Linked DNA regions of Homo sapiens: all the other regions are linked to region 4. Evidence: promoter capture Hi-C in 16 types of primary human blood cells and fetal thymus (Javierre and others, 2016). All regions are on one chromosome and are shown on one strand. Each heading gives the region's core, a stretch centred on a gene start or on the middle of the fragment in contact. The rest is flanking DNA. Distances are from core to core; before and after follow the strand shown. Region 1 has its middle 35 kb from the start of KCNQ5. Region 2 has its middle 58 kb from the start of KCNQ5. Region 3 has its middle 13 kb from the start of KCNQ5. Region 4 holds the start of KCNQ5-AS1 (KCNQ5 antisense RNA 1).

The links. The method cuts DNA at HindIII sites, captures the fragments that hold promoters and counts their contacts. A CHiCAGO score of 5 or more calls a contact.
Region 1: a contact is called between a fragment that was not itself captured here and the fragment with the promoter of KCNQ5-AS1 in region 4, in 11 of 17 cell types (M2 macrophages, naive B cells, M1 macrophages and 8 more). The highest score is 10.9, in M2 macrophages.
Region 2: a contact is called between a fragment that was not itself captured here and the fragment with the promoter of KCNQ5-AS1 in region 4, in 3 of 17 cell types (naive CD4 T cells, naive B cells and fetal thymus). The highest score is 8.5, in naive CD4 T cells.
Region 3: a contact is called between a fragment that was not itself captured here and the fragment with the promoter of KCNQ5-AS1 in region 4, in 16 of 17 cell types (M2 macrophages, total B cells, M0 macrophages and 13 more). The highest score is 21.6, in M2 macrophages.

What each region holds. Positions count from the first base shown.
Region 1 is chr6:72,583,503-72,590,591 of GRCh38, reverse strand. No RefSeq gene overlaps it. Among named protein-coding and RNA genes, the nearest start is that of KCNQ5, 35 kb to the left of the region's middle. The HindIII fragment of the contact is 8,574 bases long and covers 1-6,000 here.
Region 2 is chr6:72,561,423-72,567,529 of GRCh38, reverse strand. No RefSeq gene overlaps it. Among named protein-coding and RNA genes, the nearest start is that of KCNQ5, 58 kb to the left of the region's middle. The HindIII fragment of the contact is 2,965 bases long and covers 2,457-5,421 here.
Region 3 is chr6:72,606,037-72,612,687 of GRCh38, reverse strand. No RefSeq gene overlaps it. Among named protein-coding and RNA genes, the nearest start is that of KCNQ5, 13 kb to the left of the region's middle. The HindIII fragment of the contact is 2,027 bases long and covers 1,586-3,612 here.
Region 4 is chr6:73,139,783-73,146,682 of GRCh38, reverse strand. It overlaps KCNQ5-AS1 (KCNQ5 antisense RNA 1), which reads left to right and starts at 3,169. Exons shown (of 5, transcript NR_046621.1): 1 at 3,169-3,257. The region is part of intron 10 of KCNQ5 (potassium voltage-gated channel subfamily Q member 5); the gene reads right to left. The HindIII fragment of the contact is 1,820 bases long and covers 1,637-3,456 here.

The sequences.
Region 1 (7,089 bases), core at 464-2,963, 550 kb after region 4:
TTTAAAGAAAACATATTTAGTAACAAAGGAATGATACAGAAATTCCAGTTACTTGGAATGGTAGGGAGGGCCAGGAAATAGGATAGGATTGGTGAACAGCATTTATGAGATTTGCAAAGTGATAGTAATATTGTGTTTCTTAAACTGGGTTGTAGGTAAACATGTGTTTTTTTAAGGGTTGCATTGCTATTTTTGTACTTTACATATATTTTATAAGTATTTTTGTATCTACTCAATATTTAATGAAAATAATTGAAAAAAACTATCTTCAGTAAGTGCTGGAGGGAAAACTCATATTCAAAATGTGATAACTAAGAGAAACTTTTATTAGTTCATTTCCTATAAGATATTCCATAGGCTCTCAGAGTAGATCTGATTCTGAATAAGTTAACCCATCTGTAATTTCTAAAATGTCTTTTTGGTACAGGAGAAGCCATTTTTTGGTGAGGGGAGAAGAGAAAAACAGCATCATAATGACAGCTCACCAATCTTTACTATTCTTGACCTTCTAAGATTGCTGTATGTACAGGGTTAAGATATCTTAAAGTACAGCTTGATGTGAGAGAATTTGCAGTCTGTTCACAGATGATCTTTTTCTTGCAGACAGTGTTCGATGGGACTTATAGATATCCTGAATCATCTTTTGTCTTCATTGAAATTACAGTTCTTTTGATATGAAAATATCTTACTGTTTTTCCGTCAGTACTACTAACCACCTAAATTGATGTTTTATTTACAGGGTAGTAAATAAGAACATGTTTGTCAAATATATACTCTTGTTATTTTCCCCTCAGCTTTTTGGGGGTGTCTTTATCTTTTCTTATTAGTGCTATCTTAATTGTTCCTTCTTCAAGCAGCTTATAATTTATAACTCTTTGCTTAAGGCATAATTGCTGACCAAGGGCCTCATTTCAGATCCACTTATCTATTGCTTTTTGAAGTTGTTACTGCCTTATAGAGGCCTGTCTTCAGTTGATTATAGATCAGTGCATGAGCTTTCTTGTGTAGGACTCTGCTCGCACTCTCTTACCTTCCTAGACTCCATTTAGTGACTTTTCCAGAGCTCAGCACGCTAGTGAAGACACATTGAATGTAACACTACCCATTATCATCTTTCCTTTTAGCTAATTTGAAAGCACAGTTTTAAAACTAAAGAAAAAAAACCCGATAGATTATTTTAAATTCAACTGCCTTAGAAACATTCAGTAGTAAATGAACTTATGTGATTAATATGGAAAATAAATCTGTTCTCCTTCACCCCAAGCTGCATTCTGTGTTTTAGTTGTATTTGTGCCAAGAAGTTTTGGCAATCTGTACATCTTTTTTTTTAAGCCTCAAAAGTAAATAACAAAACACAGACTCCATGGTTGTGTGGCTGATTTTACAGAGTATTATGGTGTGGATAGCTTTGATAAAATTCTCCCAAATTTTCCTATTCTCACAAGTACATCTTCAGAGTCCTTCCTCAACCTGTGTGTGGTGTGGGGGTGTGTGCATGTGTAATTTCTAAATTCATACTATTTTACATGATTCAAACTTTAAAATAATACAGAATAATGTATGGTGGGCCCACAACATCCTGAAATAACAACTTAAAAAGCTAGATAAAATGTTTCAAAGATTTCTGAAAAGCGTAAGTGAGCTAACAAGATAGTAAAAAATTACCTGGCTAAATCTAGGATAAACTAAAAATTCAGAGACTTATGTCCCAAACTAAAACTTGCTTTTGCCCAGAGGGTATTTATCTATTGAAAGAAACAACTGTGAAACTGAACTGTGGTTTTGGCAGCATCCTGATACAAGGGAACACACTTCCAAAATCAGTTTCTACCTAACTGCAGAGTCTGAAAAGAGCTATATCCTCAGAATAAGCATGAACCAGAAGTAAAGAAGCCCTTGCTTGAAAACAGACAATAGAGATCCATAAAAATTCAGATACTGAAATTAACAGACATATTATAAAACAACTTATGCTTACAAGCTAAAAATATATATCAACAAAACGAGCTTAAGAAACAGAAAGTTAAGCCGGGCACGGTGGCTGACGCCTGTAATTCCAGCACTTTGGAAGGCCGAGGCAGGCAGATTGCTTGAGGTCAGGAGTTCAAGACTAGGCTGGGTAACCTGGTAAAACCCCATCTCTACTAAAAGTACAAAAATTAGCCAGTGGTCATGGTGCGTGCCTGTAGTCCCAGCTACACGGTAGGCTGAGGCACAACAATCGCTTGTACCCTGGAAGCGGAGGTTGAAGTGAGCTGAGATCGCACCACTGCACTACAGCCTTGGGGGACAGAGGGAGATCCTGTCAGAAAAAAAAAAAAAAAAAAAAAAAGAAAGAAAAGAAAAGAAACAGAAAGTTATTTTAAAAGTGTTACTGATTTTAAGACAATCAAACCAATCTTCTCATCCTGAAACTGTTACTAAAATTAAGAACTCAGTGGAAAGATTAAACAACGGACTAGATTAAAAAGAAAATTAGTGAGCTGGAAGATAGGTTAGAATAAACTTTTCAGATTGCAGCATGAAGGGGACAAAAAGATAGGAAGTGCAAAAGACATGCTAAAAGACACAGAACATGTCTTATAGACATGTTCTTAGTATCTAAACTAATATGGGAAGATCTAAAATAATATGAGTAGAAATTGATCTTTATAGTTTGTCCCCTTAGAGCCAGGAGACTGTAGTAGGGAGATGGATGTAGTTATAAAAGGGCAAAATGGAGGATATTTGTGGTATTGGAAGTATTCTTTATCTTGATTTAGGTAGTAGACACACAAACTTATACGTGTAATAAAATTGTGTATAACTAAACACACGCATGCACACAAATAAGTACAAGTAAAACTAGAGAAATCTGAATAATATTGGTAGATTGTATAAATGCTGGCTGTGGCATTATACGATAGTTTTACAAAATTTTAACATTGAGAAAAATAGGAAAGTGTACACAAAATATCTCCGCATTCTTTCTTTCTTTCTTATTATTTTAAAAGACAGACTCTCACTCTGTGGCCCAGGCTGCAGGGCAGTGGCACGATTATGGCTCACTGCAGCCTCAAGCTGTCCCCCTGCCTCAGATTCCTGAGTAGCTAGGACTACAGGCATGTGCCACCACGCCTGGCTAATAGTTTTTATTATTATTATTATTTGTAGAGAAGGGGTCACACTATATTGCCCAGATCAGTCTTGAACTCCTGGGCTCAAGACAGCCTCCCACCTCAGCCTCCCAAAGTGTTGGCACCACTGCACCCAGTCTCTGCATTATTTCTTTCTTTCTTTTATTTATTTATTTATTTATTTGTTTATTTTTTGAGACAGAGTCTCGCTCTGTTGCCAGGCTAGAGTGCAGTGGCGCGATCTCAGCTCACTGCAACCTCCATCTCCCAGGTTCAAGTGATTCTGCTGCCTCAGCCTCCTAAGTAGCCGGACTACAGACGTGTGCCACCATGCCCAGCTAATTTTTGTATTTTTAGTAGAGACGGGGTTTCACCATGTTGGCCAAGATGGTCTTGATTTCTTGACCTTGTGATAATGTCTGCCTTGGCCTCCCAAAGTGCTGGGATTACAGGCATGAGCCACTGCGCCTGGCCTGTATTATTTCTTATAACTACATTTGAATCAATAATTCTCTCAATAAAATTTGAATTAAAAAATATACAAACATGTAGATGCACAATAGCAAAAATGCAAAATGCCTAAGCAAAGAAAACATGTTAAATACAACAGAAAAATAAAGATGGACTGCCTCCAAAAGAACAGCAGTTTGATAACTTCATAATGCCAACTAAGGATGCTAGGAGTCAGTAGAATACTAGCTTCGAAGTTTTAAGATAGGTAGCCAGTGAAGTTATTATCCAAAGTGAAGGTAAAATAAAGGCATCTTCAGATACACAGAAAAATAAGAGTGTTCACCACCTTCAAAACCGCACTAAAATGTAACCCTAAAGGATTTACGTAATAAGAATAAAATGACCCTACATGGAAGATGTGAGATGCATGAAGGAATAAAAAGCAAAATGATACACATATTACATATTAGTTTGTAAAATATGACAAGTTAGCATATATCCTTACCAGATATCAAGACTTAGTAACATTAACACAATATAGAATAACTAAGGCTGCCCAGTGGGACAGCAGAGGGCACCTAGAAACAGTCATGCATTTGTGAGCATTGAATTAAGCAGTGTAGAGCAGTGGAAAAGGACTTTTTTTTTTTTTCTTTTTTGAGACAGATTCTCAATCTGTCACCCAGGCTGGAGTGCAGTAGTGTGATCTCGGCTCACTGCAACCTCTGCCTCCTGGGTTCAAGAGCTTCTCCTGCCTTAGCCTCCCGAGTAGCTGGGACTACAGGCATGCGCCACCACACCCAGCTAATTTTTGTATTTTTAGTAGAGATGGGGTTTCACCATGTTGGCCGGGATGGTCTCAATCTCTTGACCTCGTGATCCACCCGCCTTGGCCTCCCAAAGTGCTGGGATGACAGGCGTGAACCACTGTGCACTGCCGCAAACCTCATTGGGAAATATATTCATGATATTTGGGAAAAAAAATATTTCTGAAATAAAACATAAAAAGCACTAACCACAAAGGAAAAGATCAATAAACATGCTTATGTTAGAAGTAAGAATTTTGGGCCAGGTGTGGTGGCTCACTGTAATCTCAGTGCTTTGGGAGGCTGAGGCAGGAGAATCACTTGAAACCAGGAGTTTGAGAACAGGCTGGACAACATAGCGAGATCCTGACTCTACAAAAAAATCTTTTTAAAAAAGTAAGTAAGAATTTTGTTCATCCAATGGTGCTATAAAATTACTAAAAGACAAGCCAGAGTAGAAGACATTTGCTAACAAAGACTCATATTCATAACATGCAATGAATGCCTACAAATCAATAAAAAGAGAAAATTTAACAGAAAAAAATGGGCAAAATAACATGAATAGGCATTTGCCCAAAAAGGTGTCAGAAAGGCCAATAAACCTTTAAAAATGTTTTTAACTTTTTTACAGTTAAGGAAATATTACTTATAGTCTTAATGAGATAACAGTACTACCCCCCACTGCCTACCACCAGATTAGCAAAATTTAAATTAACAATACACGATACTGAGAAAAACAACTCAATTTTGAAATAGAATATTTTTATAGATACTTCAACAAATATAGCTAAATGGCAAATAAATATATGAAAACGTGTTCGGCATCACTGCATTAGCACAATATAGATTAAGATTATAACAAAATAGAACTACACATCTATTTGAATGAATCAAATTGAAATCATTGACCATACCAAATGTTGGTAAGGTTATGGAAGAACTAGACCTCTTATACGCTGCCAGTAGTAATGTAATTTTTTTTTCTTTAGACTCCCTTAAATGTGATTTGAGTCTGGAATATATTTGTTTCCTAGTTTCACTAAAAATGTAGATTTCAGGTTTTGTTTTGTTCTTGTCGCTTTTCTGTATTTTCCCATAGGAAAAGGGGAAAATGGTGACTTTCATGGCCATGTTCATGCTGGAAGCATTCTTTATATTTTTAGGCACATTAATTCATTATTTTGAAAAGTTGATTAGAGGTGCCTTTTTAATACTAAACTTTATGAGATTATATTGGGTTGGGTAGTGCTTTATAACATAACAAAACAGAAAATATTTTCATACACTGTACCACTTCTTTTGCCATGAAAATTAATCTGATCTAGTTTAGTCAACAAAATAGAGTGAATATTACAATCAGAAAATTGAATTGAAAAGGAAATAAAAACAGTTATGCTGTCCTAAAGTTATAATCACTATAATCAACAGATGAAAAAATATGTTATGGTCGCACCCAGGGAAGTTTAAATTTTAGGCATCAAAGCACGAATCCAAGAAAGTCTTGGGAATGCCTCGCCACTTTTCTGCAGATAGATATTAGACAGATTATACTTGATAAAGCACTAAAAAAGGCTCTCTGAGAAAAAATTGTTTCTTCATACCTAGCACTGGTTGGTGTCAAAGCTTTTGATCAACTGTAATCAGTTGGCTTTTAGAAACAATGACTGATATTTTCTTTAAAGAGTTCTGTCAATCTAAGTATTTTTGTAATATATTTGTTATTAGCTTGCAGCACTTTTAATCATGTTTTTTCCTTGCAGTATTTTACTATAATGCCTCTAGTTTCTTTATCATTTTGCAACTATGATCTGTTTTATACATAATTAAACACCTTTTGCATTACCACATAGTCTGCTTCATTTCCAAAATTGAAGAAATGGCTTGTGTAGTTGTTAGGAAGTGATGATTTTAAAACACTACAAGGAATAAGATTCTTTAATATATTAATTATCTGCCAGATGAGAATGGTCTGTAGACAGGGTAAAAGAAAGGCATAATTCTCTGGAATGCAAAGAAAAACTAGCTCAAGAGATTGTTACAGAATAAGAGTTACCAGCAGACAGTTTAAGAGATAAAGACTGGGGCAGTCCTCTTTGGGCATTATACTTACATATTTTAGGTAATAAATCAGACTATTAAGGATTAAACTATATAATTATTGCCACAAAGCATGTCAACAAGCTTATTATAGCAAATGAGAAAATCTCGTTGAAATTACCAAGCTTCTTGCAAGTGAAGCCCCTTGCAAGTGATCCAAAGAACCGTACACCAGGTCAGGTGAGAATTGGAACAGCATCTGCTGAAAAATGGAGTAGCCACATTCTTCCTTGAATCTTAAGTATTAGAGTAAGGGGACAGATTAGAACCAGAATAGACACATGAGCTTGGTCATAACTGACAGCCATCCTAACACACACCAGGTCTTAGAATGATAAATGCTTTATCAGGAAAAGAAAAACTAACTAAGGAAGTAATAAAAGGGATATAGTTCTATCATCAGTATCAGTCTATGGAAGAGTTACAGTCCATGTGTCCAAATGGTGTTTGCTGGTTAAGGAGTCATAGAGTTGCATACTTGGATACTAGTTTCCTTATTCTTCAAAATAAGGTAATCACAAGCAGTCTTTTCTCTCCATTTAAATAGTACTTAGCTATCACATAAAAAATCTTATCCTCAATGATCAAGTTGGCTTCATCCCTGGGATGCAAAGCTG
Region 2 (6,107 bases), core at 2,690-5,189, 580 kb after region 4:
GCTTCTACTTTGATTAGTGTTATCATGGTATATCTTTCTCCACCCCTTTACTTTTATTTAAGTGGATTTCTTGTAAACAACATATAATTGGGCCTTACGTTTTGACCTGCTCTGGCAATCTCTGTCTTTTAATTAGTATATTTATATTTAGATAATTGATATTTAAAGTAAATATTAATGTAGTTTGATTAATTTTGATCGTATGTGGTACTATTTTCTATTTTTTACCCTTGGTCTTTGTTCTTTTATAGATTTTTTAAGTTGCCAAGTAGAACACTTTCTATAATGTTATACTTTTAAAATGTTGTTGGAATGCATTATGTTATAAGCTTTTTAGAATATTTCTGCATGGTGAAATTTTAGATGCCATAGGAAATTTTGATTTAATATGCAGTCTATTTAAATTTCCCCTAATAAGAATGTATAATAATAATTTTGAAAAAAAATAATTCCTGGAATTTCAGGTAAGGATATTTTATCTGAAATAGTATCAGTTTCTCCTCCAGATATCTCAACAAATAGAATATTTTGGAATTCTTTGAAAAGCAAATGATGTTACCTTTCAAGCTCCCTATTTGAGCAGCTCCCCCTAAGGAACAGAATTAAAATGAAAATAAACTAATTTTTTATCTGTTTTTAACATGAGACTTAATTAGGTCTTTTAAAGTAGAGTAAAATTTATGGTAATTTAACTTCAGGAATTTTGTTTCCATTAGAATTTATCAGAAATCACCATCTACTTAAAAGTCATTAGTCTTCAGAATGATGGATGATACATTTTGTTCCACCTTTCATGTACTGGTTGTTAGAATTTACTTTTAGAAATTCAAAACCAGTTTTTATTTTAATTTGGAATGTGTTTTGTAGGTTCATTTAAATTTTAGTATTTAGAAAAGGTGGAGAAGCAAGTTGCTTCCCTAACTTCTTCTACTTGTTTAAGTATTAACCTGTTCTAGTAGTCTGATTGCATTGTTTCTGAATTTACATGAAACTCTGTTTGGTAATTGAGTGACCTTTTCTCTCTAAATCAGAAGAGCTAAGATATATCTTTTTTGAAATGGTTATTTTATTTGCTTTGACTTTCTTTTCTTAGCATTCCTCCAAAAATCCTTATGTATGTAAACAGTTTTATTAGAGTAAGTGGCAAAATCCCCAACAATTTTTACAAAATAAGTTTTACAAAAGATAATTAAGGATTGTAATATTTTTCCATACCTGCCAAGTGAGAATAGTCAAATTGCTGCCACTAATGGCATTGGCCTCACATGACTTTAATTATCATGAATTACTCAGCTTTCACCTTTCATTTATTTTAGAACCATAAGCTGAATTTTGAATTAACTTATTTTTGTGTCTTGAGAATATTAGAAGTGGAACAAAAACCATAATACCATTATTGTCGTAGTGTTGAGTAGTTAATGATTTTTTAAAGACTAAAGATATCTTTTGTCTGGGCATGGTGGCTCACACCTGTATCCCAGCAGTTTGGGAGGCCGAGGCTGGCAGACCACTGGAGGTCAGGAGTTGAACACCAGCATGACCAACATGGTGAAATCCCATATTTACTAAAAATACCAAAATTAGCTGGGTGTGGTGGAACACGCCTGTAATTCTAGCTACTTGGGGGGCTGAGGCAGGAGAATCGCTTGAACCTGGGAGGCGGAGGTTGCAGTGAGCCGAGATAGCGCCATTGCATCCAGCCTGGGAGACAAAAGCAAAAAACTCTATCAAAAAAAAAAAAAAAAAAGGCCGGGCGCGGTGGCTCACGCCTGTAATCCCAGCACTTTGGGAGGCCAAGGTGGGCAGATCACGAGGTCAGGAGATCGAGACCATCCAGGCTAACATGGTGAAATCCTGTCTCTACTAAACATACAAAAAAAAAAAAAATTAGCCGGGCGTGGTGGTGGGCGCCTGTAGTCCCAGCTACTCAGGAGGCTGAGGCAGGAGAATGGCGTGAACTCAGGAGGCGGAGCTTGCAGTGAGCCGAGATGGCACCGCTGGGCGACAGAGCGAGACTCCGTCTCAAAAAAAAAAAAAAAAAAAAAAAATCTTCTACTGATTTTCTAGAGAAAAAAAAGAAAAATGCAATGATTGTTGAATTCAAGAATTCAATGAATTAAAAGACAATTTACTGATATTTTATAATCTGCTGTGCATGGTCCTTGAACAACAAGATATCAAGAGCAAATATGGGTTCTAAAACAGCATTCAAAATGTGATGCTCCAGGAGGGCTCTTAAATGCCTGTCACTTTCACTGTGGCATTTCTATTAAAAATCGAACAGAATATCTGACCATACTTTTCCATCCCTAGTGGCTCTCCAAACGGCAACTGACCTTGCTGACCAGTAAGTTTCTCAGTATTTGTTTTCCAAAAGCATTGTATTTTAAAGCTGGTTTTTACATTTTTCAGTTTGATAAGGATGAGCAAGCTATGGTTTCTACCCCCAAGAAGCTTACATGCTATCAAGGGAAAGAGATGCATATGGAACTAACCAAAGATAATAAAGTAAATACTATGCTATTTGTGGAAACGCCAGAGAGGAAGCTAGTAATTCTTCTGAAAGGGTTAGAAAACTTTACAGATGAGATGTGATTAAAGTTTGTCCTCAACCATTCCATATATTCCACAGAAAAGATATCAGAGAAAGGTGTGGGGAAATTAAAGGGACAATCTCACACAAAAAAACTTTGAACTTACAAAATCATGTACTTTGAGTGAGAGGGACCCTCTAGTATGGTTGTTAGGAAATCAAGAAAGATACACATCATTGGAGGAAAGGAAGCTATAACTTAAGACACTAAGGTAGAAGGGCTCATTCTCTTCTCTTTCTACTCCATTACCTTCTAAAGAGTTTAGAAATAATCAAAGAATATAAAGATGCTTGTAATCTAGCTACTATTTCAATATTTACTATATACAAGGCATAATGCAAATTTATTTGCACAGGATTTCTCAACTGATTCTGTCAACAACTCTTACAATTAGGCATTATAGTTTCCATTTTATAACCAGGAAAAACCTAATGTTAATAAAAGTTAAGTAAACTTCCTGGTATCACATAACTAATAGGTGGTATAACAGAGAATCAAATCAGTGTTTTCTGACTCCAAAGTTTATTTGTGTTCTTAGTCACTACATCACACTATATCCATTGTACAAGAAATGTGCTGTAAGAAACATTAAGAAACCTAGACGGATCTGGTCCCTAACTTCCAGGAGGATGTCCCTAGAATGGGGATTTAGCCTGAAGGATGAATATCTGCAGAGACTGAGTTCAGAGCACTCACATTGTTGCCATTTTTTAAATTGATGGAGGTCTCCAAATAACCTCTATTTCCTCAGAGAACACTATGAATTTATCAATCTCAGTGTTCGGTCTCACAAACTGGAGGCATATCACTCCTCATATCTTCTAATTAGAGCCATAGGATAATCTTCTGATAATCCATTTCCTTGGCGTGTGACTGCAAAATCCTAACCTATACACATGGAAACCAATACTATTGGTTTTACCCTTAAAATTCCACTGATTTAATTATTTTATTGTTTTTAATGTTTGAACTCTATAACAAACTAGAAATTCTCCACTGTTGGTAAATGCGGATAGCATTGATGGGAAAATATGAGACAAAGGGTGGAGACTGGAGACTTAATTTCATGTGATTATTCCTGCTAGATAACCAAAAAGAGAAGTTGTGATGGCAGTTCAGGGTATTTCTGTCTGCACTGGCATTTCTGTGGCCCACAAGCTATAGGGAAAAAACTGTCTGGCAGACTCCTTGGTAGTCAATGAAATTGTCTGTGGGTCATAGAAGGCCACGTGGGCACTGGCCAAATACCTGACTGCTAGGACTGACCAGGGATAGTGTACAGGTAGTTCTGGTTTCTTCCTAAAACTATTACTCAGGAATAAACTGGAGCGCATCAGTCAGTCACATTGATCACAAGACTTTTTAATTTTAGAGTTTGCTTCCATTTTGAAAGAACAGGTAAAATTCATTTCTTGATTTTGTATAAACGTACCTATTACATACTTAATTGAATAACTTATTGAATATTCTTAGCAGTAAATTACCCATGAAACTAAAGTGTTTTCCCTATTAATTATCTATAAAATGATTAATATTGAAAAAGGCAATAAATAGATTTCATCTGACTCAAATTTTTCTATCACAAATTAGACTATAAACCATCTTATTTAAAGTTCCCAGTTTAGAGCTTTGTTTGAAATGGGAAATGAAAAATTAAAGTATCTTAGAGAATCTCTGTGTTCATAGAAAGTTTCAGCAAGTCTTACACAGAGCACAGTAAAAATGATATTTTATGTTAAACTCATAAAGCAAAAAGGAATAATCTGTTGACTATTATTAGGTCAAGTATGCACAGTATACATATAAATTTGTAAGCAAAAGGAAATTGTAACCGAAATTGATTTAATAATTTAGCACTGAGGAAATGATTTTCATATAATAAAGTTAACATATTCAGTAATAGAATGACTATATTTGCAAATCTCCTAATTGGATTTTTGTCTTAATATAAATTGCAAAGCACTTGTACTTTATTATAAATGAAATGGTGCACTCATCTATATAATTATCCATGTAATCCATATAATTATTACTTAATATTGAGCATGCACCTCCTGGGTTTGTAACTGATAAATTTGGACTTTAATTATTGAGCCAGATACTTAATTTATATAACTTTAAATTATTACTCATTCATAACTCTAGTAAAAGTAACCAAAGGGGTGCTATAATATTTTTGTGTTCTGATATATTAGAGAAAAAATTTTAAGATGAACATTTTAGTAATAGACAATATAAATTATCAAAAAAGTGTCACTAAAGAAAATAGCTTACCTGTTATTATCACTATCATCACAAATATTGTAACTATTAAGAATGCTATAAAATTTTAAATAACTAATAATATAGTGATTTCTTTCAGTGTATTTTCACCTTATGTAGTAAAATTAATGAACATTAATTTATCTTAAAATTGGAACATATAACTGACAATTTGTCTCTATTGAAGTCAGCATATTTTTAAAAATGTGATCTCAGAAATGAGAAAAAAAGTGGAAAAATATATCAGCTATATATAACTAAGTAATTGGGAAAAAATTATATTTCTTAAATATTTGAAGTGGAAAAAAATCCTGAATATTGTATTCTAGCTATAGTTAGCAGCACAAAGAGACAGAATAAGGAAACAGCAAACCAACCATGATTGCAAGCAATTTTTCCTTTGCTTTTGGTCCCAATAGAATAATTGTGTATAGAAGAACCTGGAAACAGGCAAAGGACCTGGCAGGATACACTTCTCCTAATTTCTGTTTCTTTAACATTCTATTAAAATAATACTCTTAGTAAACTTTTGCTTTGACATCAACAGGACAAACGCCTTGAGGCTTTAGAGGTGTGCCTGGAAGACATGGTGGGTTTATTTCACTCTCAGGAACTGAAGAGTAAGTGATCACCATGCCCCCTACACAATGCATAAAAGAACAGGTCCTGCATAAAATAGAAGACCCATGGCTCCTGGGTTTTAACTCCCAAGGTCCAGGCACCCTTGGTCCACAATGAATCAAGTGGAAATATTTGGGATAGGCATCTGGATATGTAGAACTGAGGCCCAAGACAGAGACTTGGCTGGGGATAGGAATGTGGAGTTTGTTCTTCTTAGCAGGTAGTTGATAATGTGCAGTGGGTGAGATAACTCTGCAGGAATGCGATTGTGTTGAATGAGAAAGGTAGCAGGTGAATATGGAATCCTGGGGAAAACCTGAGAAATACTTAAATTACTGAGATGGGCCAAGGAAGAAAATCCAGTGAGAAGCACAGGATGGTTCCATAGGTAAGTTATTTTACAAAATGAGTTATAGTTTCAAGAATGATTCTCTAATTAGTGTCAAATAATGCAGGAAGATATAATATTAAAAGGACTGTGGATTTGTCAGGATGGAGCTAATTGGCAGTCTTAGCAGCATGTTGTAGTCTAAGTGGATGTGATACTGGTACGCTGTGGGATGTCCTCAAATGCCAGTGGGACCTCGATTACAGCCAATGTCCAGTCTCTTGACATCATTGCAAGAAAGA
Region 3 (6,651 bases), core at 1,350-3,849, 530 kb after region 4:
ATTATATGAATAAAGCTTGAGATAACCCAGAAGAGAAACTTTAAGTTTTGCAGATGATCTCGTTCAGGTGACTATTTGTGAAGTTTAAAAGCAGATGAAAGCAACTATGTCTCATAGTGTACCAGGCTATGCAGTCATAGATGTATATTTTATTAAGGGCTACTAGATACAACTAAACAAAGTAAACCTTAATGTATAGAGTTTTGCATATCATTCTACTTTTAACAGCAATATTCAAATGGTAATGGATATTTAATCCTTTCATTCTAAAATATCTGTGATATTTCAGATGTCTGGTGAGAGCTGTTGAATTCATTATTCTAGAATATCTGTGAATTTATGATTCTAAAGTTTTTCTGAACGGCAGAGGTCTGAGAATTTGATGAAAGCCTTCAAAAAAGTTTTAAAAAACGTATAATTTTGCATACAATTACAACTTTTGAGGCTCACAGACTCTTGGAAATAATTTTTAAAAACCTAGCTAATCAATCCCAGATTATGGGCCCTTGGGCTGTAATTCTTAAAGGAATGAGTTGTTTTTTTAAACTTTTTGAGATGGAGTCTCATTCTGTTGCCCAGGCTGGAGTGCAGTGGTGCAATCTTGGCTCACTGCAACCTCCACGTTTCAAGCGATTCTCCTGCCTCAGCCTCCTGAGTAGCTGGGACTACAGGCACGCACCACCAAACCCGGCTAATTTTTGTATTTTAGAGACAGCGTTTCACTATATCAGCCGGGCTGGTCTCAAACTCCTGACCTCGTGATCTGCCTACCTCAGCCTCCCAAAGTGCTGGGATTACAGGCATGAACCACCACGCCCAGCCAAAGGAATGAATTTTACAAAGATTCTCTTGAGGATATCTTCAGGATGACTTATATGGGATATATGGGAAAATTTGGAATAGCTAGAACTTCCTCGACCTCCCTGGTAATCTGCATTATTTCTCATGATTTGGTTGGGAGTACCTTGATGACACTTCTATCAGGGAGGTACTAGGACAGCAAGGTTTGTGGTCACTATAAAGCCCTTGAACTGAGATTTTGGATCTTTGTTATAGGTCTTTCTGTTAGAAAACAGCCTTGAACTCTCATTACATTTTTCATATGGTTATATTATGGGATCACATTTACTCAGAATAATGGTGTTTCTATTCCAAATTAATCTTCCAGAGTTTGGATACTTTTTATTTTTTATTTTTTATTTTAGAGACAGGGTCTCAGGGTCTCACTCTGTTGCACAATTTGGAGTGCAGTGCTGTGATCATAGCTCACTGCAGCCTTGAACTCCTGGTCTCAAGCAATCTTCCCACCTCAGCCTCCTGAGTAGCTGGGACTACAGTGTCAAGCCACCACATCTAGCTTTTTTTTTTTCCTTCATTTTTTGTAGAATCGGCATCTCACTATGTTGCCCAGGCTTGTCTTGAACTCCTCCTCCCTTGGCCTCCCAAAATTCTGGGATTACAGGTGTGAGCCATGGCACCTGGCAGAGTTTGAATATTTTAAAGCCAAGAGCATGCATGTATGTGTAGTTTAGTGAGTGCATATATAAACACATATATATGTATTAATATAATTGCAATCTAAGCTTTAAAATATTGCCCACTAAAGCATACAAACTGCCATGAATCTACTCATGCAGTACAAGGGAAGACTATGAGTACAGCCAGAACCTCAATTCTGGAAAATATACTAAAGTCATCTCTATGCTTAAGGCTTTATCTCTGCCGCCTAACAGTACACTATCATGGGATATACTCATTTTTGTTTCAGTCATCTCTCAGGAATTGAAGTCTTGACCCATATCTTAAAATGGTGACTAGGGTCCTGTTACAGGTTTACCTACTTCCACAATGTCAATTGCCTGCCTGCCTACCTACTGAACCTCTGGATGTCATCTTGGCTCCAGCATTTCTGTGTTATACACATTGAATAACCTGCTAGTGCATAATTCTACAAAAAAGAATACACTCTTCTGCCTAGCAGACTATTTCCTGCCCACACCTGATGCTGAGGCCATTCTCCCCAGCCCTTGCCTGGACCCCTTGCCTGGGCTGTCAGTGTTCAGTTCTGCAGTGGCTAGCTGGGTCATGACTAATCATGCTTGAGTTTAGACCAAACCCCTATCTCATTCCCTTAATGAGAATTGTTTTAATTTATCCATTCCTCAATCCAACCTACAACTGCTGAGTTCCTACCACCTATGTTAAAACTGTAGAACAAACATTATCCCTACCTAATTCATGCCATAGTTTACTGTATTTTTTCGAAAGATTTAAAATATTTTTAGAGCAGACTTAAATACATAACATGGAATGATAGAAAGATTACCTAAAACTTGACAACCCCAAACCAACTAATATGTTTTATAAACATTTATTCATCTGGAGCTACTTCTTTACAACAGCGGTAATTTTGCCCCGCAGATGATATTTGCAATGTCCGGTGGTGTTTCTGGTTGGCTTAGTACATAGTATGGGGGAGGGTGTGGGAAACTGTTGCTACTGGCATCCAGGTTGTAGAGGCCGGGGATGCTGCTAAACATTCTACAACTTACAGGATAGCTCCCCACAAAAAAGGAATTATCCTGCCCAAAACGTCAATATTGCCAAAGTTGAGAAACCCTGCTTTAAACAAACTTTTTAGGTCAGCCTTTGAAGGTATTGAGGTGGGAAGTGTTGCTTGCTGCCATTTGGTGATATTTGTTGGTCTACGTACCATTTATTTCTATATTTAGAATTTTAGTTTTTATAATACACCTGGGGAAATGATGCTAGATGTTCATATGGAAAACATTTTTCCACTTAAAGTAAAATCTTTCAATGTATACAAAACCAGGGAAAGTCAACAGGTAAGTAAGCATGTCAGACTTTGCAATATTCTAGAAGGTTAAAATAATAACAGTATTTTTGTATACCTAAAAATGAACATAACTTCCTGCTTCTACTATAGGATAGAAATGAAAGAGGCAGCAAAAAATCCAGAGAACAAATAAATGGCTAATTGGTTCAGGGTTTTGAGGGCTCTTCTGAGACTTTTTTTCTTGATTGCATTGGAATATAGATGCCTCAAATGACACTATAGGTTTATTATAATTTTATCTAATTCCATATAAATTTATACAAGGGCTCTTTAGATTAAGGTGGTAATAAAATATCAATTAGCAAATTAAAATAACTAGAGTTCATAGATGCCTATTCACCACTTCATTAGAGGCATTTTATGAGAGATTCAAGCATGAACATTTGGTCTGAGTGTCATTTTAATGCAAGTGTTTCCATTGTGGTTTGCTGCATCATATTTGAGAAATGTAATAAAAATACACATTCATAACCTTAGAAGAGCTGTATCAAACTGACATTTTTTTACTTCAGTTAGTAATATACGAATGTACTATATCGTATAGTAATATACGAATGTACTATATCGTATAGTAATATACGAATGTACTATATCATATAGTAATATATGAATGTACTATAGCAGCTAACAATTTTCTTGTATAACAATGGTCTCTGGTTAGAAGGAAATCTGTTAGAATTTGAAGATAATAAAAGGCCAGAAGTGGCTTAATGAATTTTCTTATTGAATAAATTTACCTCTCTTTTGGAAAAGCTTGTTTTTAATCTGCTAAATCAAAAATAGGTTTTCCATAGGTAGTATTTATTTTTTATGTATATACATATTCATATTCAATTTGGTTGTAAGCTCATGGGTACATAAATCCTCAAAACATTGCATTTATTTCCATCTTCACTGATCTACTGGGGTCCTTAAGTTTCTTTGTTCTGGAAAAGAAAGTCATTCCTTTAAGAAAAATAACGCTACTCTTCAAGTTTGAATTATGAAAGTACTCCTATTTCCTTAATACTCCTGGAACGATGTTCTAATTTTTTGTCTTAAAAAATGATTAAACTTGTGCAAAATTGTTTTCTGTTTTGAATTATACTGACAAAATCAGAGATTTTACACGGATTAACCTAAATCCCAATAACCCTATTTAACATACAAGTAAATCTGGATGCAGTGTTTAGTCTCTCAGTTCCCCAGTTTTCTCATTTTCAAAATGAGAGACAATAATGTGTTATGGTATAATAGATGCCAGTGCCTTGCACTTATTAGTTGCTCTGTAAATGTTAAATAACACTTATGGATGGCTTCCAGCTTTGTTATGGAGAAAACAAGAAAAGTATTAGGAGAAAAAATTAAGAGTCACAACATATTGGAATGTTTATTTATTTTAAGATATCTTCTTGTAAAGGAACATAACTGGCAAATCCAACATCACTCAGACTATGAGTTATCATGTTTTTAGTAGTTCCGAAGCTAAGTTATATTAAAGTAAATATACAGAAACATACATGTACATGAATCTGAATAAACTCAGCCTCCCTCTCCCATTCTATTTTTTTTTAAACTTTTTGTTCTGATTTTCTCCATCACACAACCCTCATATATTTAACAGAGCTGTTGAATTTTAGAGTTTGAATGGAGTTTAAATTTCTTTCAACCAATGCAGAAATTCTAAAATAGTTCCAAGTTTTAAATTTTAACTCTTGATGGAAAAAAAAAGTCAATATACACTCTCCTACATGCTTTTCTGAAGAACTGCATTTAATCCTGCCACAACTATATGACATGGGCATTACTACTCTCCCCATTTTTAAGATGTGGAGATAAGCTCAGAAACATTAAGAGATTGCTCAGTATCACACAAGCAGTAACCAAAAAGTGGGGATATGAACAGGATATGAAAAATCGCTGACTCCAGAAACTGTGATCTTAACCACAAAACCATATATCTCTCCAAATTAGAAAATGCTTTTAGGAATAGAGGGTTGTCTATTTAGAAATTTTATTAACAGCCACATATAAGAGAAGAAGATATATCTGCAAAGGCCCATAAACACTGATCATTCTGGCTTCAAACACAGGAGAGAAGAACAGAGTCACTTCCCTAACTGAACCTGGTATTTCTAGGTGTACAGATACCCCTTTCCTGGAGATTCTGAATCCTAACATTACAATTGTATCTTAAGAATGTGGGCCGGGTGCGGTGGCTCACGCCTGTAATCCCAGCACTTTGGGAGGCCAAGGCGGGCGGATCACGAGGTCAGGAGATCGAGACCATCCTGGCTAACACTGTGAAAGCCCGTCTCTACTAAATAGAGAAAAGAATTAACCGGGCGTAGTGGTGGGCGCCTGTAGTCCTGGCTACTCGGAAGGCTGAGGCAGGAGAATGGCGTGAACCCGGGAGGCGGAGCTTGCAGTGAGCCGAGATTGCGCCACTGCACTCCAGCCTGGGAGACAGCGAGACTCCGTCTCAAAAAAAAAAAAAAAAAAAAAAAAAGAATGTGTTCAGCTGCTAATAGAGACCCCCTCCCCAAAACACTGGTTTAAGTAAGGCCTATTTGTTTCAAGCAGAGAAGACTTGAGTCAAGAGTCAGGCAGGCAAGCCTCCACAAGGACGTAAGGCCTAACTTTTTCCATTTGCCACTTTCACCTGCTTAGCATGTGTCATTCATCCTTACGGTCACAACAGTGGCAGCTATGTTTCCAAACATTATGTATGAAATTCCAGGTGAGAATAAGGGAAAAGCTCAAGGGAAAAATGGACTTTGCTTGTTATTCAGAAAGGGTGTCCTCCTGATGAATCTCTACCTGCAGCTTATTGGCCAGAACCATCTCATGACCAACCACAACTGCAAGTAAGGTAAGGAAAGTGAACTATTTTAGTTGAATATATTGGAAATAATTGAGAACCATGTAAACAAATGGGGAACAGACAGACAACCAGCAACGTCTACCATAGGCCACCTCCTTGATTACCCAAGTGACATACCTTAAATTCACAGATACAGAAGGTTGAATGTAAAAGGATAGAAAAAGACATGGTCATGCCAGTATCAGACAACATAGATTTTAAGGCTGAAAGCATTACTAGAGATTAAAGAGGCATTTCATAATGATAGAAGTTTCAACTCACCAGGATAATACAGCAATTCTAAATTTGTATGGATGAAATAATATGGGTTCAAAATATATAAAGCATACACTGGACTACAAGAAGGATTTGACAAATTAACAATTACAGTGGAAGACTTAACATATCTTTCTTAGAAATAGAACAGTTGCTAATCATTAAGGTTTTCATCTCTTTCTTGTAGCAATTTCCTGAAAACAGAAAGTTAAGTCTACTACACACAAATATTCTGAAAATTTGGTAGCATTTGCTCTAACATTCCAACCTCAGCTGGCACATTGTCTATACCCCAGATCTAGCATGCAACTACCTGCCTATAGTGTCTATCAAGAGTCACTGGCTTCCCAGGCTGTAAATGACTGGGCCCTTTTTTCCTTGTAGTGCTCCTGGCATTGACTTTCGTTTTGGTTTTGGTTCTCAGATGAGAACAACAGTAGCTGGCTCTGATTAATTAAATTAAAAGGAGTTTATTTGGAGAGTATTGAGTTGCACACATTATTGAGGCAAGGGTTAGAGAACCAGGCCCAAAGCTAAGCATTTAGGAACAATGTACCAAACCATGCAAAAGTGGTCTGATAATATTGATGCCACAGTGAACATCCTATTTGCTGGAACTTTTCTTTATTGTACTGCAATTTCCAACAGCATGATATCTCCTTTAGCTAGTAGTTGG
Region 4 (6,900 bases), core at 1,920-4,419:
AGTCAAACTAGATGAGATCAATGAATTGCTTTTTTTTTTTTTTTTTTTTTTTTTTTGAGACAGGGACTTGTTCTGTTGCCCAGGATGGAGTGCAGTGATGCGATCATGGCTCACTGCAGCCTCAACCTCCTGGGCTCAAAAGATCCTCCCATTTCTCAGCCTCCCAAGTGGCTGGGGCTATAGGCCTGTGCCACCATGCCCAGCTAATTTTTACATTTTTTGTAGAGATGGGGTTTTGCCATGTTGCCTAGGCTAGTCTCTAACTCCTGGGCTCAAGTGATCCACAGGCCTGGGCCTCCCAAAGTGTGGGGATCACAGGTGTGAGCCACTGTGCCTGGTGATGAATTGCTGTTACCATTCTAAGCTAAAACAGTACTTCATCTTAGGGAGAAACATTCTGAATCAATGGCAAAATGACTGAGAGGGAGTTATGTAATCCTATCTCCACAAGAACGAGATCTGTTTCCTTTGAACCATATTCAGAGATATCTGATTGCAATCAAGGCAGCCATGTTTTATAATGACCCTACAAATTGCAGAATCACAAATCTATATTGTTAATCAAATCTGCTGGAGAATTCTAAATAGATCTTGATATGGTTTCGCTCTGTATCCCCACCCAAATCTCATGTTGAGTTGTTATTCCCAATGTTGGGGGAGGGACTGGGTGGGAGGTGAATGGATCATGGGGGTGGATTATGGTTTAAAAGTGTGGCACTTCCCCCTTCACTCTCACTTTCTCATTCTCTCTGTCTCTTTCTCTTCTGCTACCACGTAAAGACACGCTTCCTTCCCTTTCGCTCTTCTGACATGACTGTAAGTTTCTTGAGGCATCCCAGGCGTGCTTCCTGTACAGGTTGTGGAACTGTGAGTCAATTAAACTTTTCTTTATAAATCACCCAGTCTCAGGTAGTTCTTTATAGCAGTGTGCGAAAAAACTAATACAGATCTGGTAAATTTTTCCCCAACTTTCAACTCTTATTCAGCTAGCAGTAATAGTGCCAGGAAATGCCAACATGTTAACCCCAAAATCATCTGGACTAACTTGTCTAGAGATGGTAACATAAGCATTGTTTAAAAAAAATGGAAATTACTGTTGCATACCTTAATTGACATGTGAAGGTATAGGGAGAGAATATTTGTAGTGTATGCAATGATAAAGGGAATAAATTGAGCAGACTTGCCATATTTACTGAAAAAGAAGACAATAAATCATTTCACTAGCAGTTAACATACAGCTGGTTTATACTGTTTCATTAGCAGCATGAATTATATGAAAGAAAACATGCTAAGCAGCATGCATGGTAGAACATAAAAAGCTTTGAACTTAGACCTAAGTGCAACTTCAAACCCCAGTTTTGGCATTTAGACTGAATTATGTGGGCAAGTTATTTACATTTTCTGAGTCTCAATTTCCTTATCTGCAAAATGGCTATGTGTGTATTAAATGAGCCAATTCATAGAAAATGTCTAGCCAATGCCTCGATACATGAGGTGCTAACAATGCTATTTTCCTTTTCTTTCTTAGGCTCTTTGAGTGAAGGATACTACAGGGAGAAATAAAAAAGTCAATTAGACACTGACACTGTCTTCATAGAACCAACAGGATGTTGAAAATACTAAAAGCAAATAAGCTTTAAATGGCTGGGATGGTAGATTGCAATACTGGCCACGACACTTGCAGCTTCTCACATGAAGAGGTGGAATCTCTTTCTCTGTCTCTTGCATGTGGGCTGTCCTTGCCATTTGCTTTGACCAACAGGACATAGTGGACATTATACTGTGATAGGTTGAGCCTGAACTTCAAGAGGCCTTCAGATATCAATGTACTGCTCTTGGGAACCCACCACCACCATGTGAACCAGCCCAGCCTGCTGGAGGATGAGAGACCACATGAGCAAAGAGCAGTAATTCTAACTGAGACCACCTTAGTCCAGTCAGCACCAGCCAACACAGCAGCTGAACACAGAGCATGAGTCAGTTCACTTAAGACCAGAAGAACTGCCTAACAGAATTGTGGGCTAAACAAATGGTTGCTGTTTTAAGCCACTAAATCTGAGGGAGAGGGTTAGCTATGCAACAGATAACATGAAGAGATATAGGGTCATGACATTTTTCAATCAAAACACAAAATTATGGGAACAATAGTTTCAAAAGAGTTTTGGGAATGATTAGTCATCAATTCCAATAGAACGATGTGGTATAACAATTGCTACTGCATTAGATTAATGAAAGACGCAAATCTCAGGGTTTCATGTGCAAATGATTCTCTTGGTAGCTGGAGGTAGAGAGATTAATTTTTCCCAGGTAATGTTATTCTGAGGTTTCTATGCTTTTGGAGTTCAGAAATTGTTGTTATGCATTATACATGGCAAAAGAAGAAAAAGATGGCAAGGGAAGAAAAGCCGAACAAATTAGATGTTGAAAATAAAATACCTGTAAAAGCAATTTGGGACAATGTCAGGGAGTTTTATACTGCAGGTAGCAAAAAGCAAAGCCTGGGTAACTCATCTCTTTCCCATGTCAGTCATCCATTGCAGAAAAAGGATCCTGGCCTTTACTTAACCTTGTTTCCCCCCTTCTTTACCAAGTAGAGCACACCATGAAAGCGATTAAATATAATTTTAAAATTGTGTCATATTGGTTTCTGTTTATGCAGCAGACAACTAAGTGTGACTTTGAAGGAAATAATTTGAGATATATGAAGGAAAAATCACCATGCAGCTGAAAAGTGCTTCTCTTAAATATGGGCTAAATTCTGTGATTTGTGTAATGGTTAATTTTGTGCTTATTTTGTGCGAATTTTGGACGTCACCCACAGGTTATTTCTGAAAACTATGAAGTCTGAAGAATGAGGAAGGTGCCTTTTGTTCCCCTCAGTGCCAATCAATACTGTAACTGAGGTGGGCTGGGGTGGTAAAACTTACAGACAAACAGTAAGTTCTTTGGGGTGACAGTTGTCACGCCTCCTCCCTGCCTTCTAAATGCCCAGAAACATGCTAGCTCTGAGTAGCAGCCCTCAAATACCTTCTGATATGAATTGAAATCCAGTGGAGGGCTTATTCAAGTTCTAAGAATGAGCCGCTATGGAGCACACACATAAACCTCACAATGGTGGGTGGGACACACCTGATACACTTCTTAGGACAGAAAGGACTATGGCTGACAGTGAAAGTGGAAAAGAAACAGTGGGAGGAATGAGAGGCAAGAAGCAGCGGGTAGCACTTTTCTCGGTATCAAAGAGACGTGAAACTAGGGTAAGGACAGAAAACTCACTCCTGGCATTCCTCAGCCAATCCTTGCTTTCCTCTTCTATTTCTTAGTATAGAATTGCTAGTGAGGATACGAGTTAATGGCTAAGGAAGATACTTTGCATTGGTCCAGAAGAGCAGATTATAAAAACTCAGATTTGGAAGAAAATTTCTTAGAGGTTTTCTGGTTTGATCTCCTTAAGCTTCCAGAAATTCCTGACTGTTGATCATCCAACTTTGATTTGAATGCTTCCAATTATGGAATCCACTCAATTGCTGTGGAGTCTCTAAGTGCTAAGCTGCCATTATATTGAACTAAATATTGGTATCACACACCTTTTAGTTCTGCTTCTGCCCTTTGAAGCAACCAAGAACATATCTTCAACCTCTTGAAAAGCTGAAGAGGGGCCATACATTGTACAAGAAAGAGAGCTGCGTTAGAAGTTATGACACTTTGGTTTTGCAACTGACTAGTTCATGTCCTGCTCCCTCAATTTATTTATTTATTTATTTTCGAGATGGAGTCTTGCTCTTGTCGCCCAGGCTGGAGTGCAAGGGTGCAATCTCAGCTCACTGCAACCTCCTCTTCCTGGATTCAAGTGATTCTCCTGCCTCAGCCTCCTGAGTAGCTGGGATTACAGGTGCCCGCCACCACGCCTGGCTAATTTTTGTATTTTTAGTAGAGACAGGGTTTCACCATGTTGACCAGGCTGGTCTCGAACTCCTGACCTCAGGTGATCCATCCCCCTCAGCCTCCCAAAGTGCTGGGATTACAGGCATGAACCATCGCACCTGGCCTCCTCATTTTATTTAACTTGTTGCTGCAGTAATCACATACTCAATATTTTGTTAATATTCCTTTTGAGAGTCTGCACTAAGAGTGGAATATAATTGCGTAGCTATAGGTTGAGGCCAGGATTTTTTTTTTTTTTTGAGATATAATACAAAGGATACTGGACATAAAATGGTTAGACCAGAAGTTATAAACCCATGTCGTTAAAGGCAGGTAGGTAACGGAGAGGTCGAAAGGAATGGGGAATTGGTGGTTTGGGTTCCTGGAAAGACAATAGGGACTGGTTGAAATCTGCAATTTAAAAGACATAATCTATCTGAAGGCATTTGTGGTAGCCTGACTCTAACATGGTCCCCAGTGGCCCTCATCTCCTGGTATTACCCCCCTGTATAGTCCCTGCCTACACTGTACAGGGTTGGTCTTTGTGACCACTTACACATGAAAGAAGCGATGGCATAACACTTCTGAGCTTATGTCATAAAAGACTGCAGCTTCTCTCTGCGTACTCTCTCAGCTCTCTCTGGGGGAAGCCAGCTGCATGTCATATGGACATTCAGGCAACCTAGGGTGTGAATAATGTGGCAAGGAAATAAAAGGCCTGCTAGCAAATGCTCAGTTGAGCTTGGTAATGGGTCCTCTCCCAGCATCTCCAGCCAAGAGCTTGACTGCAACCTCATATGAGATTTTGAGCCATAACCATTCAGCTAAACTGCTTCTGGATACCTGACCATAGAAACTGTGAGATTATAAGTATGTGTTATTTCAAACCACTAAATTGAGGGTAATTTGCTATGTAACAATAGATAACTAATACAGCATTCAGATTCATTTTAAAGTATCAATGTGGACATGCACACACACTTTGCTGATGAAACAAAATATAGGGCTCCAGTTTATAACCCTGGGTTTCTCAATGAAACCTGGATCTACAGAAGCCAAAAGGTATGGTTAAGGCAGCACTCGAAGGTCATTTGGCAGCTCAGTTTCTGCTGGAAGGGAGGAGATGAAATCCATTCAGAGCTCAAGCAGGAAGCTATTTTATCCACCAACAGAAACAGAATATAATTTTCCTTATCACTGTAGAGTAACAACAAACCATGGGACAGAACCTAGAGAAATCTGACAGAAATCCTGTTCTATAATACAAAGAGCACTTGGATTAGAGTAGAAAGCCAGGTGGAACTTCAGTCTTATCAAAATAGAAAAGCATTTCCCCGTCACTAAAAACTAAGAACAAGCATTTCACAAAAAGTAATGGAAGAAGCAACCTGTTATGGTCTGAATGTTTGTGTCCCCCCAGAATTTATATGTTAAATCCCTAACCCTCAAAGTGATAGTATTAAGAGGTGGGGGCTCTGGGAGATGGTTAGGCTATGAGGGCAGAGCCCTAATAAATGGGATTAGTGCCCTCATAAAGAGACCCAAGAGGAACCTCGCCCTTTCCATCACGTGGAAGTGGGCCCTCTCCAGACACAGAATCTTCCAGCACCATGATCTTGGACTTCCAGCTTCCAGAACTGTGAGAAGTAAATATTTGTTGTTTATAGGCTGCCTAGTTTATGGTATGTTTTTTATAGCAGTCCAAACAAACTAAGACACAACTCTTCTCAGAAATCCAAGAAATAACGTAGTCACTTGGGGTCTGAAACCAGAGATTGAGAGGTCACTCTCCACCCAATAGGAGAAGCAGATCTTAGGGGGACAAGAGTACATATGAAACACAGCAGAGGAGTAGGATATGTCTTTGAATGAAGATGCCTGAGGGACTGAATAAAGAACCTGGACAACTAAAGAAAAAAGACACCTATGGATCAGAATTGAGACAATTTCTTCAGGTAATGGTTTTTACCAATAAGTTAAGGAAGTACTGAAAGTGCGTTTTAGAATCCTACTGAATACCCTTTGTAGGGTTTTGCATAGAATTACTCCAACAATTACGCTGAATATAGAGTTAAATATGAAGAATAAATTTCTAGAGTTTAGATCCAGTCATTCTCAATAAATCCTTTTGTTCTTAACATTAAAGAAAACCCTCAGATTTTGTTACAAATAGAGGATGACAGGAATGGGTGCCCTACTCAGTCAGAATCCCAGGCCAGAAATCTGCACAAACAGGTTAAGTGGAAGCCCTAATAGGATACTGCTTTAACAAGAATTATTTCTGTCAACACAATGCAGAGTCATTATCAGGCAATTTCAGAAAGTGCCAGGAAGCATCATGTGGAAAATTATAATCAAGGCCTGGCTGAAGTTGGGCCATCATTATGGAAAGTCAGGAAAAATGCTATGTGCAGCGTGGTGCTTGGCATTTTGTGGAAACACCAAAAATGTCAACTGGGGAGACTGAGAAAAACATGAGGGAGGAAGATGCCATTGGAAAATAAGCATAAAAGAGGATTAGTGTAAGATGAAAGCTCGTGTGCATAAATTAGTCAAATAGAAAATACTGATAGTCTGTGATTTATACTGCTTGGAAGAAAATAGGCCATTATGGATACAAGAGACTGTTAGTTCAGGATAGTTGTCAAAACCATTGCATTAAAATGCTGCCTTTTTGTCACTGTTTTCAGTGATCTTGATATTTTCAAACAAGGGTTGTGGTAGACTGGTGGGCCTAGAACCTAGGTAGAAGTTAAGAGAAGAGAGGAAGGGGATGAACTATCTTTAAGAAGACTTGAGGGTTCTGGCACCCCACATGGTGTATTTCTACTTTTTTGCTATTTTTAGGTGAGACTGGGTTAGTTATTAACTTCAGAAGGAAGAAGGAGTCACCAAGAGAAACAGCTTGAGGAGCGAGGTGTCAGGAAGCTGCTGAGGAGGTGGAGAGGAAGGGAACTGTACCAGTTTTCCCTTAGT